3 separate regions of the Homo sapiens genome follow, and regions 2 and 3 are each linked to region 1. Evidence: promoter capture Hi-C in 16 types of primary human blood cells and fetal thymus (Javierre and others, 2016). All regions are on one chromosome and are shown on one strand. The core of a region is centred on a gene start or on the middle of the fragment in contact, and the rest is flanking DNA. Distances in the headings are between cores, read along the strand shown.

What was found. Contacts are between HindIII fragments. The CHiCAGO score rates a contact against its expected background, and 5 or more counts as called.
Region 2: a contact is called between a fragment that was not itself captured here and the fragment with the promoter of RHOC in region 1, in 2 of 17 cell types (total B cells and naive B cells). The highest score is 7.3, in total B cells.
Region 3: a contact is called between a fragment that was not itself captured here and the fragment with the promoter of RHOC in region 1, in 1 of 17 cell types (endothelial precursors). The highest score is 5.9, in endothelial precursors.

The regions. Positions count from the first base shown.
Region 1 is chr1:112,705,577-112,709,226 of GRCh38, reverse strand. RHOC (ras homolog family member C) reads left to right here and starts at 2,100. Exons shown (of 6, transcript NM_175744.5): 1 at 2,100-2,149. RefSeq lists a silencer at 1,661-2,380 and an enhancer at 3,640-3,650. The HindIII fragment of the contact is 12,151 bases long and covers 1-3,650 here.
Region 2 is chr1:112,458,661-112,462,310 of GRCh38, reverse strand. CTTNBP2NL (CTTNBP2 N-terminal like) reads right to left here. Exons shown (of 6, transcript NM_018704.3): 6 at 1,147-3,650. It overlaps MIR4256 (microRNA 4256), which reads left to right and starts at 478; the gene lies at 478-541. The HindIII fragment of the contact is 4,916 bases long and covers 1-3,650 here.
Region 3 is chr1:112,876,463-112,880,112 of GRCh38, reverse strand. LINC01357 (long intergenic non-protein coding RNA 1357) reads right to left here. Exons shown (of 2, transcript NR_189282.1): 2 at 2,242-2,383. Among named protein-coding and RNA genes, the nearest start is that of MIR11399, 3.8 kb to the left of the region's middle. RefSeq lists an enhancer at 1,261-1,858. The HindIII fragment of the contact is 2,256 bases long and covers 902-3,157 here.

The DNA.
Region 1 (3,650 bases), core at 851-3,350:
GCTAAGCCCAGGAGTTTAAGACCACCCTGGGCAATAGTGAGACCCCATCTCTACAAAAAAATAAAAAATTAGCTGAATGTAGTGGTGAGTGCCTGTGGGAAGCAGTTAAGCATCCAAGGAAATTAAGAGTATTGCTTATAGTAGAAAAGAATAAAGATCTCAAATCAGTGATCTGTTTCCACCTTAAGAGGCTAGAAAAAGAACAGCAAATTAAACCCAAAGTAAGTTAAGGGAAGCAAAAATAAAGATGAGCAAAATAATTAGAAAAGGCCCCTCACCAGCCTGGGCAATATAGCAAGACCTCATCTGTACAAAAAATACAAAAATTAGGTGTGATGGTACACGCCTGTAGTCTCAGCTGCTGGGGAAGCTGAAGTGGGAAAATCATTGGAGCCTGGAAAGTTGAGGCTGCAGTGAGCTGAGATCTTGCCACTGCACACTTAGGCAACAGAGACCTTGTCTCAAAAAAAAATTAAAATTAAAAAAATCTACACATCACCTTATCTTGAGAACTTCACCTGTTGTTCAGGACTGGGTATCGCACAGCCCACACATGCCCACACTACAGCAATGACCTCCGGTATTGTAACTGTCTACATTAGGAGTCAGTAGGGAGTAGGAATTAAGAACAGGGGCTCTAGAGTTCAGCTGTTTGGGTTCTAGTGTCAGACCCAGCACTAGCTCTGTAACCTCTCTGAACCTCAATTTGCTTCTCAGTAAAATGGAGATAGCTACCTCATGGGATTCTTGTAGTTAATGTATGTGGACCCAGGTCCATGTAATATGGATTCAATAAATGTTAGCTATCTTGAAATTGCATTCCTCATTTAGACTCTAAGTTGTTTGAAGGCAGAAATGGATCTTCCGAACATAGCTCTCAGTTCACCCTCGAGAAATGTTCATTGAGTCAGTTAAGAGGCCTGGGGCCAAACTGCTGCGGACCTGTTTTCACATTTGTCAAATGTCTGGATTGCACTTCAGATATTTAAAGTCTGTATGACTCCTAACATTCATTCATTCATCAAATATTTGTTGACAACCTATTATGTGCCACTCACTCTGCTAGACAACGGGGGAAGGGACAGGCTGGAGGAGCCCGTGAGGTAGCAGGGCCAGACCACCAGTTTGGAGCCAGACAGGCCCGGCTGTGTGAATTCTTGCTGTCACAAGTCAAAAACAGTTGTGTAAGCCACTTGATTTCTCTGAACCTCAGCTTCTCTATGGGCAAAAGGGGATGGGTATATTTTCCCCAGAGATCTGTGATGAATATTGAAAGGGTTAAGCTGTGTAGTGTCCCAAGCACAAGCCAATGAAATGTTGGTGGACGTCCTCATTCTACTCCCACCTCCTCAGCTCCCTTACAGGGAAAGGAGATACGCGTGTAGGTAAATATCCTATGCGCCAAGTCAGACCTAGGAGTGGGAACAGAATTCACAGCTGGGATCCAGAAGCATTTCTAGGCGCACCCTTTGAGGAGTAGGTAGGAATTGGACTCCTGGAAATTCCAGGCCCAGGGAAGAAAGCGAATTGTGAGGAGGAACGGTGGTCTGGGTCTGAACGGCTCTGAGAGGTCTTCAAGTTTGGGGGATGACGTTGGGCTGTACGATCCTAGGAACAAGAGGGTGGACATCTCCCCCCAACCAACACACCCGCGCCGGGCCCTGGGACCTCCCGGCGGATACCCTTTCCCAGTCCCGCTTCCCGCGAGGTCCCAGGTGCAGCAGGAGCGGGTGGCCGCTTGGCCACAGGAGGGCAGCAGCGGCCCTTCCTGACCCCACCCCGAGCACCTCTTAACTTTCCCGACGCCGGTCCTCCCCTAGGGGATTGAAGGCTGGGCAGAGTCTGAGTCCACCCGGGTCGTGCTCCCCCCGCTCGCCCGGCTCCTCCGCAGTCCAGGAATCTCCCCGTGGCTCTCCCCGACCTGGAGGGGTGGACGCCCCTGGCCCCCAGTCCCCGGCCTGCGGAGGGGGCCGGTGGCTGCGGCCCTGCGCGGGGCCGGGGCGGGCCGAGCCAAGGGCCGCCCCCGGCCGACCCTCCCCCTGCCGGGCCCGCCCTCCCCGCCGCGGCGCTGGAGGAGGGCGGGGCGGGGCCCTGGGGTCAGTCTGAGCCTCCGGCACCGGCCGCGCAGCTGGAGGCGGCGGAGCGGAAGGTACCCTGGGCCGGGGCTGCGGGCGGTGGGGCGTCTTGGGAACTCGTCCCCAGGAGAGCACTTTCCCTTCCTCGCTGGCCCGGAGATCGGGGCCCGTGCGAGGAGGGGCTTCGGCCTGGGCGTGGACCCCGTTCCCTCCAAGCGGAGTCGGCATCCGGGCTGGGCGGTGGTCGGACCGCGTCGGCCCCTCCCCGGGCTGCAGCGAGGGGGCCCGGACCTGCCGGCAGGGGCTCTGGCCTCCTGAGGTCCGAGTCGGAGCCCCTTCCCTTCTCCTCCCAGCTTCCCGGAACCTGCCCCGCCGGGCGAGGGGCGAGGGAACTTCAACTCAGACGCCCCAGCCCCCAGGGTGGGCGGCCGCAGGGGACCTAGAGTGGGATGGGGTGGGAATTCCTCCAGGCCAGGAGGGAGGTATGGCGGGAATAGGGGCGGGATGTGACCATTGGGGCCTGCCACTGCTCGGCAGGGTCTGGACGCCGCCCTGGACGGTTCCTGGAGCCCGCTTGTGTTGAGGATAAGGGAGATGGGGAAGGATCCAACTCTGTGTGTGTGTGTGTGTGTGTGTGTGTGTGTGTGTGTGTGTGTGTGTGTGTGTGTGTGTGTGTGTGTGTGTGTGGTGTGTGTGTGTGTGTGTGTGTGTGTGTGTGTGTAGAGAGAGAGAGAGAGAGAGAAAATGAGATTGAGAATCCTCCTTCTTCATACTCGAACCAAGAAAGAGTATCCTGGGGTTTGGGACTGGGATCCCGAGGCCGAGTCCCGCCCTCACTCTGGTTTTAAAGTTGAGAATGCAGTATCTCTTGGTATCTCCAGAACGGATTCCTTCCCTAGGTGTAGGGTGGGCCGGCAAAGTCAACCGGCCGCTCTGGATCATCTGGGAATTCAAGAGAGCGATTGGAGAGAGGTCTGATGTAGCCACACTGTCTTGTCTTGGGGAAGGCCCCAGAAGTTCCAGGCTCCATTCCAGGCCCTGTGTGGGGCTCAGTTGCCCCTCTTAAGGGGTCAGTGGGACAGTCCCTCTGGGGCTGCCTCTCACAGGGAGTTGTCCATGCCATCTTGGCCTTGGGCCTAGTGTCCTGGCCTGGGCTGCCTGCTGTTCTGGCCCAATCATAGCCTGGAGGGAAAGTCTTCTAATTGGGCTGGAGGCTCCAGGTCCCTTAACGCATGCCTCAACCCCGGGTTTCTGTCCTCTGCCTCCCACCACTCTGGTGCCGTCTGAATTACCCTGCTGGGGGGACAGCAGTGGCATACTCATGCCTAAGTGACTGGCTTTCACCCCAGTAGTGATTGCCCTCCATCAACACTGCCCACCCCAGGTTGGGGCTACCCCAGCCCATCTTTACAAAACAGGGCAAGGTGAACTAATGGAGTGGGTGGAGGAGTTGGAAGAAATCCCAGCGTCAGTCACCGGGATAGAATTCCCAAGGAACCCTCTTTTTGGAGGATGGTTTCCATTTCTGGAGGCGATCTGCCGACAGGGTGAATGCCTTCTTGCTTGTCTTCTGGG
Region 2 (3,650 bases), core at 660-3,159, 250 kb after region 1:
TGCAGTGGCGCTATCTCGGCTCACTGCATGCTCCGCCTCCCGAGTTCACGCCATTCTCCTGCCTCAGCCTTCCGAGTAGCTGGGACTACAGGCGCCCGCTACCACACCCGGCTAATTTTTTGTATTTTTTAGTAGAGACGAGGTTTCACCGTGTTAGCCAGGATGGTCTCAATCTCCTGACCTCGTGATCCACCCGCCTCGGCCTCCCAAAGTGCTGGGATTACAGGCAAGAGCCACCGCGCCTGGCCCTCCCTGTGGTTTTTAAAAGCTCGCCTGCATTATTCTATCAAACTGTTGCCTCTGGACTCACTATGTATCATTTTGTTAATGTTTTGTTTCCCCAACTAGATTGTGAGTACCCTAAGGGCAGGGAACAGGATTAAACTTGTGTCTTCCCTAATAAGCACCTTGCTTTCTGGTTCATCTTAGATACTTAAAAAACATGTTGTTTGAGGGGAATTAATGATGTTTTATTTTTGTTCCATTTATCTGACCTGATGAAGGTCTCCTGGCATTGATTAGGTCTGATGATCCATTTCTGGGGTGGCTGTGGAGCAGCATGGTGTCCCGCATGCATTTTCTAAACTTGCTCTATCTGAAGAATCACCAAGGCATTTATCTAGAGCTCCACCTTTGCCTACTGAAATCAGAATCGCCAGGGGAGGAGCCTGGGAATCTGCTCCTCCCCAGAGACTCTCATTTGGGAAATACTGGTAGTGAAAGAACAAAGCACTAAGGTTTAAATCCTGGCTGTCATATGCTAAGGGCCCTTGCACAGATCTCTGGCCCTCAACTACCTCATCACTACACTGGGGATAATAATACCTCACAGCACCCGTGTGAGGATTAATAAGGTAATATGTATGTGAAATCATTAGCATGGTGCTTGGTACTCAAGTAGGCACTCTTGACTCTGAATATCACTGACATTCTGCCAAACCAGTTTCAGGAGCTTAAGACATTTCCTTAGGTCAGAGGCAAATAGCAAGTTGTTGTGAAAGAACAGGTAAGGGCTATGAAGGACTGTTTCTCAAAACAGACTAGCTGCATCAGCTAGTCTGAGGATCTAATCTCCAGAAATCTTTATTTTAGCAGGCTTCCCAGGTTATACTTACGCACAGTAAAGTTTGAGAACCACTACTCCAGTCTCCTTTCCCCTCCTTTATTTTTACTAATGAATTGGCCACTGATACACAAATGGTGGGTGGACAGGCTCTCATTTCTCAACTAGTTTTATAGAAATTAAATTAAAAATTATTCCTGTGGAACAATGCTCATTGCCCACTTCTGATTCATTAGGAAAACACATCCTATTTTGAAGCCAGTGTTTTGAAAGACAGTTGAAGTTCCATTTCAAGGACTAAGCATCAGAAGCACTCCTTATGAATTCACACACACACACACATACACACACACACACACAAATTGACAAGGCAGCACTGCTGACAGGCTATTAAGGGAAACCGGATATGCTAGTATTTGTTGAAATGATCATTAATTTGCTTAAATGCTGAAAACTTCAGATATGTAAACATCCACACTATTTGAACATTTTTTAGACATCAAAGGATTTTCAAGTGCTTCTCTCTGGCTTGCATTTGCTAACATTGCAGCAGCAACAGCGCTGGAGTAGTTGAAAAGGGATGCATTAATCATTTGTAAAATGAGAGAGCAGAACAAGATTATGCTTTCTTAAGCAGAAATACATGAGCCATGGATGGCTTCAGGGTCTTTGGATCCTATGAAGCCATCAAACAAATTTTGCATATAGGCATATTCATTTTTCTAGGGATAAACTCCATGGCTTTTCTAAGATTCTCAAAAAGGTCCAGAACCACCAAAAGGTTTAAAAAATCACAGACTGGATTATTGTAAAGGCTTTTTCCAGCTCTAAGACTCTAAAGAAAATCAATGTCTTAGTTCCTTATGGAGTCTAACCTGGATGGGTCATTGACTTCATTTGTTTTGTCAAAGCCACAGTCAAGTGCTCCCTCTACACCACCCCCTCTTCCCAACAAAATATGCCCAAATTGTGCCATTTTTCACTTTGTACAAACAAGACTATTTCCCCCCAAACAGCAAGATTTAACTTGTTTTAATGCAGTCTGCTATAAAAATGAAGACTTCTGCATGGTATATTTGGCTTTACAAACGTTAATGCCTAGTTAATGCTTGTGTTATATGGTACACATCATTACAATCTGTTGGCCAGTAACAGCTTTTGCAACATGGGTTAATACTAAAATTGTGAATCATGGAACTTTTACTTAGCACACACACACACAATCTACAGCAAACTTAAATACTAATCTATAATACCTAACTGGGTTATTGGATCCATTGCAAGATTGTGCTTATTTATCTCAGAAGGTAGGCAACTAGCAAAAATACACATTTCTTTCGCATATCCCCACCCCCATATTACACTGTAAAAGAAATACATTATTCAGTGCACTTCCTAAGAAATAAACTTCCTTATAGTATCTCTCTCTATATATATCTATCCCAAAACAAAGGAAGAGCACAATGCAACTTTTAAGATTACCATTTAAAGCAAAAGAGACAATAACTCTCTGGCACTGTAGCCTCCTCTCCAGTTTAGAAAGTTTAGCTATTTTATCAACACTATTCGTTTTGGCTCTGCATAGGAATAAAGTTCAATGCATGATTGCCTTGGACAGTTTAAGATACCCCCTACATCATTTTGATAGACACCTTGGGGCATTAGTAGCATTTTTATTTTTCATGTATTTGCCTTTATCAAACTATAAGCTGTGGAGTTGCCAATATACTCCATTGTGATTTATACACTGATTTCCATCACCTGCCTTTTTACTATCAACTCTTATTAGATTAAAAGGAAATAGACTTAAATTATAGCAGGAGGTCAGGGCTGCTGGATAGATGTTGGCTCAGAGAATGTATGTGAAGACACCAAGGCCTCTCCTGTATGGACACAAAATCATATAACCACTGTGTCTGAGCTGGGTTGTGGATAGTCTTATTTGGCAGAGGGGGATAGCCATTATATTCTATGAACCTTGCCAGCTGTACTGGCCTACACAGTTGGAAAGTTTGGAGGCTTTTGTCCGCATAGACTTGCTATGATGAAAATGACAGAAGTTTCTAGAATGAAAGAGGTTGCAACTTGGCAGCTTGCAAGCTAAATCCAGCTGCAGACGTGTTTGTTTAACCAGCACCATTTAAACATTTTAAAATCACTTCTTGATATTTAAAAATGAGAATGTTTCTCATGAAAATTTGGATTTCAAAAAATGTGAAGAACTGGTAATCCTGGTTTAGCATTCTTGCACCGCAGCAAGCAGATGGAGCTGAACAGATGCCCTTTTTAAATGCGGCTTGGGCACTTTAGTTTGCCACAGCTCCCACTGCTCCCAGCTGTTTTACATCGCTTGTGTGAGAGGCCTGTTTCACTCATTTATATGACCAGTTGAGTTTTGTGACACTGGGGTTAGTTTAGCTCTGCCTATTTATTTTTTTAATAGAGATGGGGTCTCACTATGTTGATGAGGCTGGTCTTGAACACCTGGTCTCAAGAGATCCTCCCATCTCAGCCTCCCAAAGTGATAAGATTACAGGCATGAGCCACTGTGCCTGGCCAGCTCTGCCTTTTTATGATACTGAAGATC
Region 3 (3,650 bases), core at 780-3,279, 170 kb before region 1:
CCCCCAGCCTATGCTCTTGATCAGAAGAGGGCAGAGAAGAAGGGGTGGAGGAGCAGACAACTTTCACCAGGACTCTGGCTACGACCCCTCAGGGCATGGTCAGCTGAGATGACCTCAGCTAGAAGAATAGGGAGCTGCTCATGAGCAGTGATTTCAGAAACAGTAGCCTGGATCCGCTGCCCCAAAACCACCCTCCTCACCTATCATCTAAGATTCCACTAGGGAGACTTGATTTACCTAGCTATTGAAATGCTGTGGGAAATGATTCAAGCTAAGAAATGAACAACTAACAGAAGGCAATTCCCTCCCAGCACAGCACTCCCAGCTTAGCACCTGACCCAGCTAATGTGGTCTCAGCCTGAGCACTGACAGTGACAGGGACTCATCCTCTCAAGCAGCCCTTTTGGTGCCCAGGCAGCTCCAACTGCTAGAAGGCTCTTCTGACACTGGGTCAGCTTCTGCCAGGCAGAGCCACAGAGCAAGGGCTTATGGGTGCCAGGCCTGTGCCAGGCTGTGAGGAAGACAGGGTAGTGCAGACCCTGTCCCTGCCTTCTGAACAGATCAGGTCTAGATTGAGGAGGTGAGCAACCTCAACAGTCCTAGGGGCATGTGTTTGTCCCACATTCGAAGTTCTGCAGCGCTCCGTGAATGATGGAGCCATTGGGACATAGTAGGACAGTCACCCAGTGGCCTGGACACTCCTCTTCTGATTGCAGCCTGGTCATACCAGACATTTCTAGATACTTTCTGAGGCATCTCCAGCCTAATCTTGACCCTGTGGCCTCCCTTCCAGTAGCCCAAGCCCCCAAGCTGGGTTGTGCTACGTTGGAGCTGTGATGCCTCCTGGCTGGAAGGAGAGGCTGCTGATTTGCTTGGGAATTATTCCAGGGGTTCTGAAGCTTCAGGATATGAAAATCAGGAATTGTTGAAACACAGATACAGCCCTTCCTAGAGGTTATAGTTTCCTGCCCTGTCTGGAACTAACAGACTAACAGGGGAGACAGAATTAATAGTAAATTCACACATCTGGGGAATGCCCCAAAGGACCAGGAGAGGATGCAAGGGTGAGGGAGAGGGGATATTGGATAGGCCATCCTGCCCTGCTCTGAGAGGCTGGGTGGGCAGGAGTTAGGGGGTGGCTCTGCACTGAAGGAAGGAAAGTCTGAGTTCACCAGGCAAAGAAGGTGCCCAGGGAAGGGCTCCTGAGAAGGCTGAGAAGCAGGAAGGAGCCCTCCCTTAGCTCTCAGAATAAAGGTCCCACTTCCCTCTATGCCTGGCATAAAGTCTGGGGAGGTGAGTGAGGCGCAGCCCAGTTGTAGGATTGAACCCTGGGTGAGGAATCAAGTCCTGGGGGCCAGTCAGAGGTGTATTATAACCTGTGCGACTTGGCTTTCTAACGGCCAAATGGGGTTTCAGACTCACAAACTCCAACTTCTGCAGCCCTGAGAGATGGTGCCACCCTCTCAACTTGCAGGTAAGGACATGAAGGCCAGCAGAGAGCCACTGCACGACAGCAGAGCTCAGGACCCCTCTCCTGGTCTGTCGGCTGTGTTGGGCTCCTGCATCCCCAGAGGTTTCAGGGACTTCACGGGGTGGCAGGAGAACTGAGAGATAAGTAAATGACGCAGCGGTCATGGGAAGCAGAGAACGTCTCACAGCAGTGCGAGCTTTGTCTCCCTCTGGCGTGGTGGTGGCTGGGAGGTGGTGAGAGGGTCTGGGTCTCAGATCACCAGCTGTGACACAAGCCCTGTGAGCTTGGGCAAGTAAAAGGCTGCATTTGTAGAAAAGAAACTCTTTTGATTCCATTGTGAAAATGGTTTCCCTTTCTTTGGTTAGAACCCAGCCAGATTTAATTTCCAGGAGCCAGAGCCAAAGAGAAAATCATTCAGGGCAGAGATAACTCTTCTCTAAGACGTCTAGCCTTGGGCAGAGACAGGAGAGAAATACAGACTTCCAAGCCAAGGCCCAGGCATATTTAAAATATTAATATTTTAAAAGGTCTGGATTTAGGATAGAAGCAAAGAAGGGCTAAATAATTCAGAAAGCAAATTGAGGAGCAGCTGTTGCTGATGCTAACTGAGGTTCTTGCCTGGCTGGTTTCAGAGCAGCATCCTCAGCCTCCTGGGAGAAAGAGCACAAGTTGTCATGATGGGGGAAGACAAAGGCTGGAGGGAACACAAAGCCAGCCTTAAGTGCAGCCCGACTGGCTTTGTTTCTCAAGACACTCATATTACTAGCAGCTTAAAACAACAAACATTTATTATTTCACACAGTGGCTGATGGTCAGGTATCTGGGTTCTAAGTTGCTGGGTTTTCTGGCTCAGAGTCTCTCATGAGGTTTCAATCAAGATGTCTTTCGGGGCCATTGAAGGTTTGATTGAGCCTAAAGAATCAAAGACAGACATGCTGTTACATAATAAGCCAAAGTTATATTAACTCTATATTGGCCCTATATTTTTTATTGCTTCACAGCAGACTGGTATCATTGCCTCAAAAGTTTACCAGTGCCAAGCTCAAATTTTTTATACACCCAATTGCTTTAAATATAGTCTAAATAAACAGATCGTTAGTCATTGACAGCCTTCCGGTTTTGCATACCCCACAAAACAGAATCCCACATTTACTAGCCACAGATACAATAAACTCTGGTGCTATAAAAGGCCCCAGTTGCCGGGCATGGTGGCTCACAACTGTAATCCCAGCACTTTGGGAGGCTGAGGCTGGTGGATCATGAGGTTAGGAGATCGAGACCATCCTGGCTAACACGGTGAAACCCCGTCTCTACTAAAAATACAAAAAATTAGCCGGATGTGGTGGCACGCACCTGTAGTCCCAGCTACTCAGGAGGCTGAGGCAGGAGAATGGCATGAACCTGGGAGACGGAGCTTGCAGTGAGCAAAGATCACGCCACTGCACTCCAGCCTGGGCCATAGAGGGAAACTCTGTCTCAAAAAAAAAAAAAAAAAAAAGCACCAGCCATAGCTGCCCTTTGGATCTCTCTGACTCTGAGACTCCACACCCTACTACTGAGGGCATCATCTAGACATCTAAGGATCCGCTCCAATCTCCGTGTCCCCCAGAATCTCCCCCACCCTCCTTCTCTTCTAGCTGGTGGCCTCAGTCATTACCTGCGGAAGGTCTCATGCTGTGAAAAGCTTCCTCAGCAGGCAACCCTGTCAAAACACGGCCCAAATAAAGCTTGTTGTATGTTATTACCACCTCATAGCCATATCTTTTTCTTTTTTTTTAATTTTTATTTTAGGTTTGGGGGTACACGTGAAGGTTTGTTACACAGATAAACGAGTGTCACAGGGGTTTGTTGTACATACTATTATTATATATCACCCAGGTATTAACCCCCAGTACTCAATAGTTATCTTTTCTGCTGTTCTTCTCCTTCCCAACCTCCCTCCTCAATAGACACCAGTGACTGTTGTTTCCTTGTGTTCATAAGTTCTCATCATTTAGTTCCCACTTACAGGTGAGAACATGCAGTATTTGGTTTTCTGTTCCTGCATAATTTTGCCAAGAATGATAGCCTCCAGCTCCATTCATATTCTGGCAAAAAAATCTTGTTCTTTTTTATGGCTGCATGGTATTCCATGGTGCACATGTACCACATTTTCTTTATCCAGTCTGTCACTGGTGAG